Regions from separate parts of the Homo sapiens genome. Here region 1 is linked to region 2. Evidence: promoter capture Hi-C in human tissues and cell types (Jung and others, 2019). All regions are on one chromosome and are shown on one strand. Each heading gives the region's core, a stretch centred on a gene start or on the middle of the fragment in contact. The rest is flanking DNA. Distances are from core to core; before and after follow the strand shown.

Region 1 (3,543 bases), core at 414-2,913, 50 kb after region 2:
TGCACTTCAACCTGGGCCACAGAGAAAGACTCTGTCCAAAAAAAAAAAAAAGTTAAAAGGAGACTTAGGAAGCTTTTGATTCAATATTCCATTTTGTAGATAAAGAAACTGAGTCCTCAGAACAAAGGACTAGACTAAGCTTTCCGGGCCTAGCTGCAGTCAATTCTTAGGCATTCAACCCAATAAAATAGTCCTTGAATGCAGGGAGAAAGAGAAAAAGGCCTCTGCTGGTTCTTCTGAGATAGTGCCTCTGAGCACTCCATGTGGGGAGAGGCTGGCCTCAAAAGAAGTCAGCAGGAGGGAGAGTAGCATTTGTGATGGCTCCCATAGGCCTCAGGCCTTCATTCTGCCTTCAGCACCTAACGATGTCTCTATGGTTGCAGCGAAGGAGACGAAGCCCTGGAAGCTGTTTTTGGCAACCACCAGGAAAGGCTGCGGAACAGCTGAAGTGCATGTGAGAACCAATCTTTATAAGCATTAGGATCCTGGGTGACTCAAAACGATCTGGAAAAAGTAGATCCACTTTTTTTTTCAGTCCATCCTTTTTCATCCTCTCTTCACTTTTCATACCCCCAGCCCCACCACAAAACAAGACAAATCTACAAATAAAATTTATTGTTTAAGATGAGGGATTGAATGTGCGCATTTTTAGTTCCACTCTCTCCCCAAACCTTACTAACATGGCAGTATAGTGAAAATTTTCATAATTTCACAAGGGCAAATCAACTGTCATGAGAACTGACATGGCAGACAAAGCATTCTGGAAGAGGGAAAGCAGATGGAGGAGTGGTAATTTAGCAGAGCCAAGAGAGATGAAAGCTGACTGCCTACAGAAAGAAAAGGCAAGAATTGAGCTGTTTTTCACTATGGAAGCTCATAGTCTCCAGAATGGGAGGCAGCAGGTATCCCTGAATACAGGGACAAGAAGAAGGACTGAAAGCAAAAAGAACGTTTAGGTTATTTAAGGCCTAACTAAATCATAGATTCTTCTACCACAGATGAAGGCTTTTGTCTATAGAAAACAAACAAATAAAAACAACAGAAACCTGAACCAGAACAACTCCAAGTTCAGAGATACTACCAGTCACACTGAGGCACTGTACTGAAATGCAGAGAATTAAAATTAAATGAGAGTCCACATACTGAGCCTTGAGACCTCCAGCCCCCTCTAAACGCTCTGAGTTGATGCATCAGGCATTTACTGTCCAGAGGAGAAACGAGCAATTTCCTCCCTGGTTAAACTGGCATATGTCAGGGAAAAGATTCAGTTACTGACATTGGAGGACCCCCAGTGGAAGAGCAGGGTCCCACCTAACACCAAAAGGAAGCTTCCTTGGACACATAGGTTCCCATCATTTTGTTAGGCCTCACGATTAAATATGAAACCAGCCAAGAATACTAAACATTTGAGAAAGATTCTCACATTGAATCAGATTCCAAAACAAAGAGGAACAAGGAAGCCAAGACAATGCAGGAAGCAAATTAACACTCTTTGAAAAGCATAATTAATACCCTAAAAGAAGATGAGTAAAATTTTGCATCTATGAACAAAACCAGAATATTATTTTAAAAAGCAGTCAAAATACAAGAACAAGACTGTGAAAAATTAAAATATGTTAACAAAAATTTTTAATTCTACAAAAAGATTGGGGACAAAGTTGAGGAAGTCTATCACAATAGAAGGCAAAATGACAAAAGCTAGAAAATAGGAGAGAGCAGCTAATAGAATGAGAAGATGAAACAAAGCAGTCCGTTATAACAGGATTTCTAGAACAAAGAAATAGAGGGAATAAGGAATTCTATTCATTATCAAAGAGACAATGAAAAAAAATCCTGGAACTGAAGGGAATGATTAGCAAAGCAACTGTTACTTTACTATGAGTAAAGAGTACCACAGATAAAATTTTCCTCAAATTTTTGAAGGGGAGGAGGCAAAAAACAGACCACTGATAATAAGCTCAGGAATCAGAGTGGCATAAGAATTCTTATTGGCAATTGTAGAAGCGAGGAAAGAAAGATGTAGTGGCTTTATCTGTTAGATAAAGAGTTTTCAACCTAAAAGTCCAACCAAATTATCAACCAAGTGTGAGGGAAGAATAAAGGACGTTTTCTCAAAAATTAAAAAAAAGCAGATTTTTGCTGCACATGCATACTTTCTCTTCTAAAACAAACAAAAAGTCATGAGATACATGGAAAAAGTCCCACATGGACAAGAATTGAGGAAGATTCCCAGGTTGAATGTGAAGGAAACCCTAGAACAGCAGCTGTGTAGCTAGCCTAGAGCACAAGCATCCACACTGCTTCCAGGAAGGAAGTGTCCAAGAAAAAATTAAGTACTAGATTGTCTGATACTGTTAGCCATATTGAGAAAAGTGTTACAATTCAGTTGGGGAGTTTACGTATATAAAAACTAAAATGAAAACAAGAGATATTTATTAAACTAGCCTGAGAAAAAAACTTACATTAATAACATTTGGATAATTCAGCTCTAAAAATAATAATAATAACTAAATAGTTCTAATAATGCAAACCTGGAAGGATGGTTTATCTGCAAAATTGTGATAATTGTCAGAGGATGAGGCAAGCAAAGTTTTCCTGTGTGTAGCGTGGTGAGGGATGGACAGGTATATTATGAGGAAGTCTAAGAGAGTTAAATCCTCATCTTCCATACTGGGCAATCAATTTACCCCAAATTGAAAAATCAACATGTGTCAGTATGAGCAGACTATTTAGGAACTTGGCGGTAAATACCACAAGATACATGCGGGGCCTGAGAGGTAGGAATGAGGCAGTGCACAGGGCTCCTGTTTTTCACTATATGCTTTGTCACACATTTTAATTTTTTAGCCATATGATGTTTATTTTGATATAAAAATTTTTTTAATCCACCAGATTTAAACTTTGCTGACTTGTCTTATCTTACGTGTTCTCATCTAAGGTATAAGGTAGATTCCTACAGGTAGTCACCCCCAGTCCTGTCCGCCATTCCACAGTATTTCCAGGGTTCATAATGTGCTGTGCACTGCTCCAGGCACTGGGGATACAAGAGAAGAAGGACTGCGGCTGCGTTTTGCAGGCAGAGTTTGTTAGCATGGATGTAGGGAAAGAGAAAGCAAGGAAGTAGATGGGTGGAGTAGGAGAGGACGTACGAAATCAAGAGCTCCGTTTGGGGCAAAATATGTTTGAGATACCTACTAAAATCCAAAAAGATATGTCAACTAGAGAGGGACATACAAGTCTGGTACTCAGTAAAGACATCAAGACTGGAAATATAATTTGGGACAGACAGGCATATAGATTAAGTACAGAGATATGCCTTTCCAACTCCACGCTATCCCTGTGCTCCAGAAAAACATGATTCTGGCAATGAGGGTCATGTTCTCCCATTAAATACTAAAAACAGGCTCGGGCTCACATGACCAGAAAGTGCCAGAATGTTAGCCCAGGGTTCTGATTGTCAAAAGCTAATGTGAAGGAAACAGAATAATTCTTTCCATGTAAGTCTTCTAAGGTTTTACCACTGCAGCCTATTAAATTTAAAGA
Region 2 (3,614 bases), core at 487-2,986:
TTCACCCTTGCGCCTGGATAATCAGAAGCTCCAGAAGCTGGCAGATTTCATCCAACAGGCAGCTTGGCCCCTAAAAAGAGGCTTGCATGGAAATGTACTAGAAGAGTGTCTTTATTTTAACTTTTCATTGATTAGAAAACTTTACATAGATTACATTGTTGTTAATTAAGGAAATTGTCGAATCGCTCAAGATGGCTCACCAGTTACAAGCATTTGGAGACACGGAGCCATTTCCCATCTATAAATTGGGCAACACCAAAACTGCAACCCTAAAACAATTTGGCTTAAAATACTCACTTTTAAAACACAAATAGATCTTCAAGGGTTCATTTATTCACAGTCTTATAGCCTGAGACTCTATAAAGACTTTCTGTTGTATTTAAGCTGGGGAATAACTAGGGTTTGAAATCCATGCTGCCTCTTTCTTGAGTCTAGACTCTTAATGCTCCCAACCTGTTCCCTTGGTCCCCCCAAGTCTGGCCCGCCTCTATTCCCGTAATGCCCCTTCCGCCACCTGACCCAGCCATGGAGATAGCCTTGTCTCAATGCATTCCTAAACTTATAGAACTGAAGACTCCACTGTTACACCCCCTTTCCAGAGGGCTTGGTGGGGGGTAGGCTTGAGAAGGATGGGTAGGGTCGCAGGAAGGAGGGCGAAGCCAGCAGACCTCTCAGGGAGGGCCGGAGAGAGAAAGGGGTGAAGGTTTTATAGTTGGAGTGCATATACTTCCAGCTCTCCAAAATGAAACATACCATCGCAGCTGGTATTACCGGCTGAATAGGCAGCAAAAGACCTCTCTGTGTACGGGTCCTAGTATGCTTCTTCTTAGCGCCAACGAGTCCTTGTCCCCAAAGTTGCCAAAACTTTAAAGGACCCCGGCCAAGGAGACCCCAGCATGAAAAGCCAGACATCCGAGGCCGGGTAAAGCCTCCTGGACTCCTCGAAAGCAGCTCACACCGGGAGCAGCCGGAAGCGGGCGCGATCTATGCGAAGCTAACGGGTTCCGGTGGAGAACATCAAAGAGAAAGGAGCAGGATCGAACTTTAGAGGGGCAGAAGGGCACGGCCCAAGAGAGCAGAATTGGGGTGTGGGACAGGCGGCGGGAGGACCAGGTTAGAGGGAGCGAAAGGAAGTGGATTAGAGGACAGCGGTTACAGGTTTCAGCCACTGCCATTTCCCCGCAGAGGTAGCTCTTCTGCGCCCTGGAGGGGTACCCGGACTCCCACATCCTGTCTGCCACGACCCGGACTCCCTAGGGGATTCCAAGGGACAGCACCGTCCTCCCCATACATCATCAGGAACCGAAAGCAGAGAATTTGCCCCACCTCGGCACTTCTGGAAGCACCCACTCAACTACAGTATGAGACAAGGGCTTTCCTAAGAGACCTTTCTCCAACTTTCTTTCTCTGCGTGTATGAGCCCGGATCCCTTCGTCCCCGCCTCCTTCTCTCTCTCTCTTTCTCTCTCTCTCCTATTTTGTCCTGGGAGATTCCTACTCGCGGTGCGAAGCCTCGGATCCGCTGGGAACCGCATAGTCTCCGGCACCCTTGGCCGCATGCTTGTCAGAGGTGGGCCCCGGGAAACACACTCGCTGCCCCTCCAACAAGCGTCCCTCGCTCCCCATTGGCCCCCCGGTCCCCGCCCCCCACCGCCCCCTCCCGCTCCGCAGCCCCCGAGTGGCGTCAGCACGCCCGCCGGGCATGGGCTTTAAATGCCCACTAGCGGGAGCTCAGGCGCTTCTGCCCTGGAGCGCGGTCGGGAGTAAAATCGCAGGAGTGGGAGGGTAGCGAGCCAGCTGGATTCCGAGCCGCGGAGCGCGCTGGCTTTGCTCCGCCTGATGACTCCAGAGCGCGGGTCCAAGCGCCGCCCATGCAGCACCCCTGAGCTCCGGGGAAGGAGAGTTAATGAAAAAACACTTAACCGTCTCCGCTGCGGAGAGTCATGAGCTGTCTGGATGTTATGTACCAAGTCTATGGTCCTCCGCAGCCCTACTTCGCAGCCGCCTACACCCCCTACCACCAGGTACGTGTCTCCTCTGGGGACTTTGGGAAGGAGTGCGCGCCCCCCGTTTGCGGCGGCATGGCCTGTACGCCAAGGTCTGCTGTGCCTCCGCGCGTCTCGGGCGTCCGACCACGACCGGCGCAGCCGGGATGCGGGGATTGCCGGAGCCGCCCCCAGTTGGTAGTGCAATTAGCTAACCCCTTTAGCTCGCCTGTTTGCTCTCGGGAAGCAGCTAAGCCCTGCTAATGTGAGCCTAGGTCTTCCCTGGAATAATCAGAGGAAGATGGCACGGGCTGGATTTTCTTCTTAGGGTCTGTCGGACTCCAGATTCTTCCAAGCCAGGTGCAGGTACCAGGAAATGCAGGCAAAGCTGACGCAGGAAAAACCAAACTTTGGTCCCAATGGTGAGAGTAACAACAAAACCAAAAGCGAAGGCCAGCCAGCCTCTTTCTGAGATGCAAGGGCCGGTGTTCTCATCCCTGCAAGTTTATCTCAGGAATAATTTCTTCCGTTTCAATTCTCTGGCGACCAGGGCAATTAATTCCAGATCCAGAGAATTCATTTCAAAGAGCACCGCGCAGTTTTATAATTTTTTCCTTTGCGAAGTTCTGGGAGCATTATCCGGAGTGCGAATGACCCGGCAGAGGCGAGCCTGATAGACAATACTTTGCCTTTCTCCAGCCTGAGTAGGTGAATGGGGAAGCCCTGCTTCCAACAAACACTTTAAGAAGACCACTCAACCCGGGTTCTGCAAACTCTTCAAGTTCCATTTAATTCTGCCAGTTTCTCTTGTCTTCAGGCTGCGTCTGTTTGAACCATTTTCCTTCCATTTCCTCAGCTGAGGTAGCAGAAACTGAGGACAGTAGTGCAGGAAAAGAATGAAATCATACACCTGGGAGGCTGTAGGGGTCCCCTCCAGGTTGGAAAGTGAGAGCTTGGTCACCTGCTTTGGGGAAATTGAAATACACCCCAATGCCCCAGTGGATGCTTTTGCTAATTTTGCCTGCAAATTTAAAATGTCTATTCGAAAATTTCCCGATAAATTAATGATGGACCGGATAGGGTTCACTTTTTGTTTTCTTACCTCCTCTTCTCTTTTAAACTTCACAACTTGCAGTTTGTTTTGCCTCAGTGTTAATTTTAAGAATCACCAGAGTTCCTCTTGTAGGGAAGGTGGCATTTAGGAAGTGGTGATATTGCTAAATCTTACATCGTTTTGTCCCCAATTATTTCAAACCTTTTGGCTCCAGCTTCTGAAATGTACTTCTTCCCAGGGTGGGACTATGGCAAGCAAAGAGGAGAGAGGTGGATTGGTTTTCTGACTGGCCCTTTCTTCTCCCAGACCCCGAACCAATCTATTGCATGAAGATCTCTGTTCATTTTTGTATGACTCGGGCCGCCTCTTCAAGGCCATCTCTGCCTGCAGAATGCTTTAACACTTCATTCAGTCCATTGCTCATTTCTAAGAAAATGTTCACAGAAGCTGCGCCTGCTTTTTAAAATCACTATGAGACATGCCGATTTACCCCACCTCACAGCCAGGATCTTAACTTTCTTCTGTCTGCTCCTTTTTATCATTTCCTCAATGTGTGTGGAGATGATGGGGGTGGAA

The links. Contacts are between HindIII fragments. The study calls those that stand out against the background at their distance.
Region 1: a fragment that was not itself captured here is called in contact with the fragment with the promoter of VGLL2 in region 2 in 1 of the 25 tissues and cell types used here (ovary).

Annotation. Positions count from the first base shown.
Region 1 is chr6:117,313,535-117,317,077 of GRCh38, forward strand. All of the region lies in intron 39 of ROS1 (ROS proto-oncogene 1, receptor tyrosine kinase), which reads right to left. Among named protein-coding and RNA genes, the nearest start is that of VGLL2, 50 kb to the left of the region's middle. The HindIII fragment of the contact is 4,879 bases long and covers 1-3,543 here.
Region 2 is chr6:117,263,822-117,267,435 of GRCh38, forward strand. VGLL2 (vestigial like family member 2) reads left to right here and starts at 1,737. Exons shown (of 4, transcript NM_182645.3): 1 at 1,737-2,023. The coding sequence starts at 1,943. It overlaps LOC105377964 (a long non-coding RNA gene), which reads right to left and starts at 1,253. Exons shown (of 2, transcript XR_942911.3): 1 at 754-1,253. The HindIII fragment of the contact is 18,110 bases long and covers 1-3,614 here.